2 separate regions of the Homo sapiens genome follow, and region 2 is linked to region 1. Evidence: promoter capture Hi-C in 16 types of primary human blood cells and fetal thymus (Javierre and others, 2016). All regions are on one chromosome and are shown on one strand. The core of a region is centred on a gene start or on the middle of the fragment in contact, and the rest is flanking DNA. Distances in the headings are between cores, read along the strand shown.

Region 1 (3,171 bases), core at 331-2,830:
CCTGCTGGCACCTTGATCTTAGACTTCCCAGCCTCCAGAACTATGAGAAATCAATTTCTGTTCTTTGTAAATTACCCAGTCTGTGGCATTTTGTTATAATGACACAAACTAAGACAATCAATCAGAGTTATATTTCCTTGTAAGTATAAATTTTATTTTTTTATTTTTATTTTTATTTTTTTTAAGAAGGAGTCTCGCTCTGTCACCCAGGCTGGAGTGCAGTGATGGGATCTCGGCTCACTGCAAGCTCCGCCTCCCGGGTTCACACCATTCTCCTGCCTCAGCCTCCCAAGTGGCTGGGACTACAGGCACCCGCCACCACGCCCAGCTAATTTTTTGTATTTTTAGTAGAGAGGGGGTTTCACTGTGTTAGCCAGGATGGTCTCAATCTCCTGACCTCATGATCCACCCACCTCGGCCTCCCAAAGTACTGCAATTACAGGCATAAGCCACCACGCCCAGCCGTAAGTATAAATTTTAAAATCACTTCTTAATTAATATAATAGATGAAATGACCCACAGAAGTATCCACTCACAGAAAGGACCATTTCTAAAGGACCAGTTTGGCCTATAAAGAAAATACAATAGCAGACCTTCACAAATTTTCTAACATCAGAAAAGAAAAAATATTTAGATATTAAACTGAATCAAATGTGATGGTCTTACCCAGACAAAGGAAGACTCAGCACCCCATTTCCAAGTTAACTGGGAGCTTTTGTGTTGCTCTTTTTGCCCCCCTTATATTTGATTCTGCTACCTGACCTTTAAACAGAAAAGCTTTCTCTTCTTGCTATCTATGTTTGTTATTTAAAAGATCAAAATATTAAACTCTTGCTATATCTATTTGTCATTTGAAAGATCAAAATATTAAATGATTGTGAAACATTTTTTGCAACTGTAAGAGGGTTGATACTTTTCCTGAATATTATTCATTCAACATTCATTTATTTCTTTGACAAATATTTAAGAGATGCTCATGATGTCCTAGGCATTGAGCTAAGAACTCAATGTTGCAATGTGGATAAGATCCAGTCCCTGTGTGTTCATACTTATTTAATACTATTATAGACAAGGCCTTTAATACATACCATAGTCATATATCAATTTTTAATTAGCAATATGAAATAAGAGAACAATGGGACTTTCCACTCAATTTGACAGGTGGCTAAATTTTCAGTTACTGAATTTACTATTTTAGGGTAATCTAGCACATGACCAAAATTTAAATGCACAGAACAGAAGATCAGAGTAAGAAGAGCTTCCATTTGGATTATCACTTTTTCTACTTGGAGTCACATACTGTACTTTAAATTGATTAAGAACATGTTAAAGGTCCAGGTGGTGATTTCCAGCTACAAGTCCAAAGTATAGAAGAATGTGTTTAAATCCTACGTTTATCAGATCCATAAATATAGTTCCTTCTATGTTAAGTGGCTTTATTTCTAAGAACCCAGCCCTCGGTCCTGGGGGTGCTTCCCAGCCCGCTGCTGGAATTCCTGATCGTGGCAGTCTGCTGAAACATGAGCTCAGTTACCAAATATAGCTGAGTGGAGTAAGAGGACAGATGAGAGTCTGAGGCCACAGTTGCCTCAAAGTGACCACGGACCAGGCAGTCTCTAATGAATAGGCAAGGCCACAACCTCCATTCTCCCAGAAAAGAAGAAATGCTCATCTGAAATTCATCACCTCTCTGGAGTCTTCAAACTGACCAAGCATTGAAAAGGTCTGTAAGGTGTATCTTAATATACTAACTAGTAGGGCAACATTTTAAGGACTTAAAAAAAAAAAAACTAAAAATACAAAAGTTTTTCTGAAGATATGATACTATTTACAAGATACCTTAATTATTCTTTTGCTTGGAGAGGAAACGTAATGAGAATGTTACGGTTTTGCCAAAAACAGATAATACGTAAGATTTGCCTGCCCACTTCATCTCTGCCTTTGCTGTCAGAGAATTACACTTTCTGTTATAAGCTTAAGCATGCTAAGATGGTGCTATCAATTCCAAAAGGATTAAATGTATTTATGGAGCCAGCTTTTGTCAAGATCGTGTATGTGTTATGTTTCACAGAAAAGGAAAACGCAGCTTTCTAGACCCTCACCCATATTTAAGCTAGATAAGTGATGATGGCTTAAAGTGATAGACCTTAGATTTCAGTAACATTATAAATTGTTAATTACACTTTCAAAAGATTCTAAAAGTAACTCACTGGACATAATTAAATGAGTTGGGATAGTAACAGCAGGTATTTTAAATTATATTCATGCATAAAATTTACATACATATTTTTAATAAGATAACGCTTACTAAGGGAAACCACAGTGCAATCTCGAGTCCAGTCAAGTTTAAACATCACAGAATAATTTTTATCATGTTGTTTTAAGTTGCACATGAAATTGTCTTGAATCCAATATAGGAGGTTGACATAAAATGATTTCAGGCTCATATTACTTATTAACATTTGCTAAAAATACTAATTGCCTTCTAGTATGAATAATGTGGTGACATATAAAGCCATTTCTTGGCAATATAAAACTATTACAAATCTATTCAATCACATATATGCAGAAATTAAATCCTCATTTCATGATAAATGTGCCTTCCAATGTTTTTTCTCACAGAAAGAACTTGAATACTCACCTCAATTATTCAGATTTTTTTTTCAGATTTTTAAAATCAAAGTCTCTTTGACAAGTTATTGCTAACAGCAGAAAAGGCCGATGAGGTTTATCTGGCCACTAACTGCCCTGTAAATACATGATTACACATTCCTAGAATATAAATTAGTCCTCTGGCATCCTAGAATCTGGTATGGATTAGGGTCTGTATCCCAGGGGTTCTGTGTCAGCTCTTCCTCTGGGTTTCTCTGTTATTGCTAGAGCTGAATATTAAAACTGGCCTTATAGCATATTTCACAATAGAATGAGGATCTGGATTGCACTGGACAAGTACAATCACTTTGACCTCCTTACCTCATTTTTTAAAAATGTAGAGGGCAATCATTATTCAGGTTTAAAAATAAATATGACAAGTTCTTTAAGAGATACCAAGTGGAATCTGCAAGGCCCAGACAAGAGCTCCACTTCTTAAACAATATGTGTGTGGAGGCTGTCAAAGGGTATTGCAATTACTGAGCTCCAGTTAGAAATTCAGGCCATCTAGAGTTAATG
Region 2 (3,366 bases), core at 173-2,672, 980 kb after region 1:
TGGTATACAGAGTTAAAGTAATGCAATTTAAATATGTATCATTAGTTCCCTCTCTCACACTATACACTTTTGTAATAAAAATCCTTGCTATTAAGGCTGATTAGTTTGATTAGTTTTCTCTGCTCTTCACATTTCACTGTGAGAGGGAGGCACTTCTATTCGCCCAAAAGGAAAATATATAGAATTCTTTCAGCTTCTCTCAATTCTTCTAAGTGTTCATTTTTTTCAGAGTGGTTAGTCTATAAGTTTACATATGTACTAGACCTAAATAGGATATTAATATACTACTATACATACTTTCAGTTGTAGAGAAGGATGTATCTAGTGTTAACTCATCCAGAGGAATCACAAGTTGACCTCCTGCCTCCCACTTCTTGCGATCAGATGAAACTGATTTTTCTTTTTCATGCTCTTTGGCATCTTCATGAACATTTATCTCAAAAGTATCAGAGAGATTCTGCTTTCCTTTTTCATCTTCTTGAGCTTTAAGATTTTCATTTAATCTACGAAGTATTTCTCGCTTACTCTGAAAGTCACGACATTATATATTTTAATATGTATATCATTAAGTAAAATGATTGATAAACTTTGAAAATTTTACTTACTGAAATAGCATTGTTGGTCTTTTGCATCTCTTCTGAAGTTTCCCGGGTATCAGTTAAACTACTGTCCTTTAAATGCAGATAGATACAGAGGAAGAGATAATTTTATTTTTTTAAATCTACCTTTAAAAATATTACATCCTCGTTACTTTTTGGTTTTCATTAATTTGTTCCTTGTAAATTTTTTATTCCTATAAAATGTTAACAAAGCTTCCTTCATTATCAGCAATGACTAACCTTTAAATATTATTAATTAGACAACATAGACAGGGGCCAATTCTCAATTATTTGTCATATTTTTAGATTACTGCTCACATAATTAACTATATCCTCTTCCTCTTTGGTACCTGATTTTTTGGTAATTTAAGTCAGAAAATTAGAGGAAAAAGTAGAAATTAGAGGAAAAAGTAGAAATTAGAGGAAAATTCATATACTCTCTTAATTATAACTAGAAAAAGTTTTGATAGATGAAGTAATTCAAAATAGGCTGTGTTATTCTAAAACTGTCTTTATGTTTCATGTATATATATCCTTGTTAAGCCATAGTACTAAATGTAATTGAGAAGTGGCTTTCCTCCCTAAACAAAGAGTGTAACAAAAATTAGTTCTGAGTCATTTGTACTACAAATGACATAAATGTTATCTCCTAATTAGCATTGTCAAAGCAATCCAGACTATCTAAAATTAAAAAACATACGAAAAGAAGAAATTAGCAGTTACGAAAGCTATGAAAGCAAAGGCATGTAGAAGATTCAAAGAACAATTTTCTAAGTTTTAAGTAAGTGACATTTACCAACACAACACAGAAAGAAAACCGTTCAGTTATATGGATTACCTCGAATTTTGTAATACTTAAAAAAAATTAAAAATTTGGTGGTCAGTTTCAAAGTAATATATGAAGCAATGAGACAAAGAACATTTTACCCAGTAAAGTAGTCAGGAATTAGCAGTCCTACAACCAGAGAGATGAACAGCTATTGAGATGTGAGACTGGGTACCAAGGAGGGACCACACAGTGGTATCTAAAGTTGGAGTAACAACGTGGCACACGCAAAGTCGTTATCAGAAAGAAAAAGTGACTAAGCCTACTTGAAGAACAATAGTTTCTTACATGAAGTTCTTGAGAATGATCAAGAAACTTATATTTTCCTACTGAGTTTTATTTTCAAAATCAACCCAAAGGCTATAAAAAAAAACAGCTAGTGTACCAATTTTGTCTGCAAATATTTACTGAAACTAAACAAATAAAAAGCACAGACATCCATTACCAGGAAAGGGGAAAATGAAGTTATTATGTTATCTGATTCAGTAGACTTTTCTCCTCCTGTCTGTTGAATTCTAGGCCGCAGCTCCACACTATGAGCCCACTTCTCTTAACCCCTGAACAGTCTTCACACTTCAGACAGATACCTGAAATATACTTCTAAGTTTAAGCTTTTTATTTGTCTATGTTTCTTTGTTTTACTATCTGTAGGGCATGACAGAGATTCAGAAGTAGAAGGTAAAAGGAATAACTGATGAATTAACTAGTTCTACTGAGTCCTCTAACATTTGCCATGTCACAAAATTTGAATAAATGTAAATATGTGTTGGACCTAATACCTAGAGCTACTTTAGCACCAAAGAGACATTATTCTTTTTAAAGTGAACATTTGTTAATCATGAGGGTTGGGTAGAAAAATGTTTATAGTATTATTTTCAGTACATTTCTCTGTATATTTTATTTTTTCAATATTCTTTTAAAGTAATATAAGAGTTATTGTGATATATTTTCATCTACCACGTGGTCCTAGATATAAAACTTATAAACAATGAGGCTCCAGTATTCTGAGTAAACTAAAATCCCTTAAAAAGTAATTTTTTTCCTTAGAAAAACCTGAAAGGGACATTAGGGATTAATGTGATTTCATTAAATTTAATTTCCTTTTAAATAATCTTTTGACTTTGAGGAGTTCTGAATCTTAGGAAACTTACCACGCCAACTTCTTTCAAAGCTGAAGTTACAGAAATAACAGATCTCATCTGTTGCTTTGATGGAGAGCCACCTGTTTCATGCTGTCCCAAAGGTGGAGAAACATCAGAACTCTTAACTCCTTTAGCCACCAACTATAAAAAAGGATTTTATTAAATACATTAGGGATTTTATATTTGTATGAAGAAATAAAATGGTACCTACCAGATCACTATTTATCCACTCTATCCACAAGTAGTTTTTTTCATTCCTGAATTATCTGTTGAGCAAGGCATTATGATGCTACATGCTGGGGATACAGCAGTGACTAGAGAAAAAAATCTCTGGTCTCAGATGTACACATAGTCATGTCACATAGTCCTAAATAACCCGCTTTCATTGCATTATCAATGTTTCATGAAATGATCCTGAAAAACTGTCTTTTAAAGATTCAAGTGTAAGATTTTGTTAATCTTACACTTCTAAAAGAAATGCTTTTGTAATTCCTGCAGGTTTGGGTACAATCTTCTCAAAGTTCAAATATCAATTACTCAACATAAGAGCCCTCATAAAAATGCCAACATAAATGAGAATGGAAGGAGAAACAGATCCAGGTAATAAGATTTACTTCACTGAAAACATCATGTTGTATTAACATATGTGCTTGTTTTTATGTTGCCATTTAAACTCTAAACAAAGTAAGATTATGAAACCTGAATTAATACAAGGAAATGACATTTATGGGTATGACAATAGTAACACAGCAGGAAGTTTACTCCCTACTCCCTATTCCTAGTCTTCCTCAATCTAGGA

What was found. The method cuts DNA at HindIII sites, captures the fragments that hold promoters and counts their contacts. A CHiCAGO score of 5 or more calls a contact.
Region 2: a contact is called between a fragment that was not itself captured here and the fragment with the promoter of PALLD in region 1, in 2 of 17 cell types (total B cells and naive B cells). The highest score is 10.7, in total B cells.

What each region holds. Positions count from the first base shown.
Region 1 is chr4:168,495,472-168,498,642 of GRCh38, forward strand. It overlaps PALLD (palladin, cytoskeletal associated protein), which reads left to right and starts at 1,581. Exons shown (of 22, transcript NM_001166108.2): 1 at 1,581-1,723. All of the region lies in intron 1 of LOC107986198 (a long non-coding RNA gene), which reads right to left. The HindIII fragment of the contact is 1,197 bases long and covers 776-1,972 here.
Region 2 is chr4:169,476,827-169,480,192 of GRCh38, forward strand. NEK1 (NIMA related kinase 1) reads right to left here. Exons shown (of 36, transcript NM_001199397.3): 24 at 2,577-2,708; 25 at 606-671; 26 at 298-526. Among named protein-coding and RNA genes, the nearest start is that of NEK1, 130 kb to the right of the region's middle. The HindIII fragment of the contact is 1,224 bases long and covers 811-2,034 here.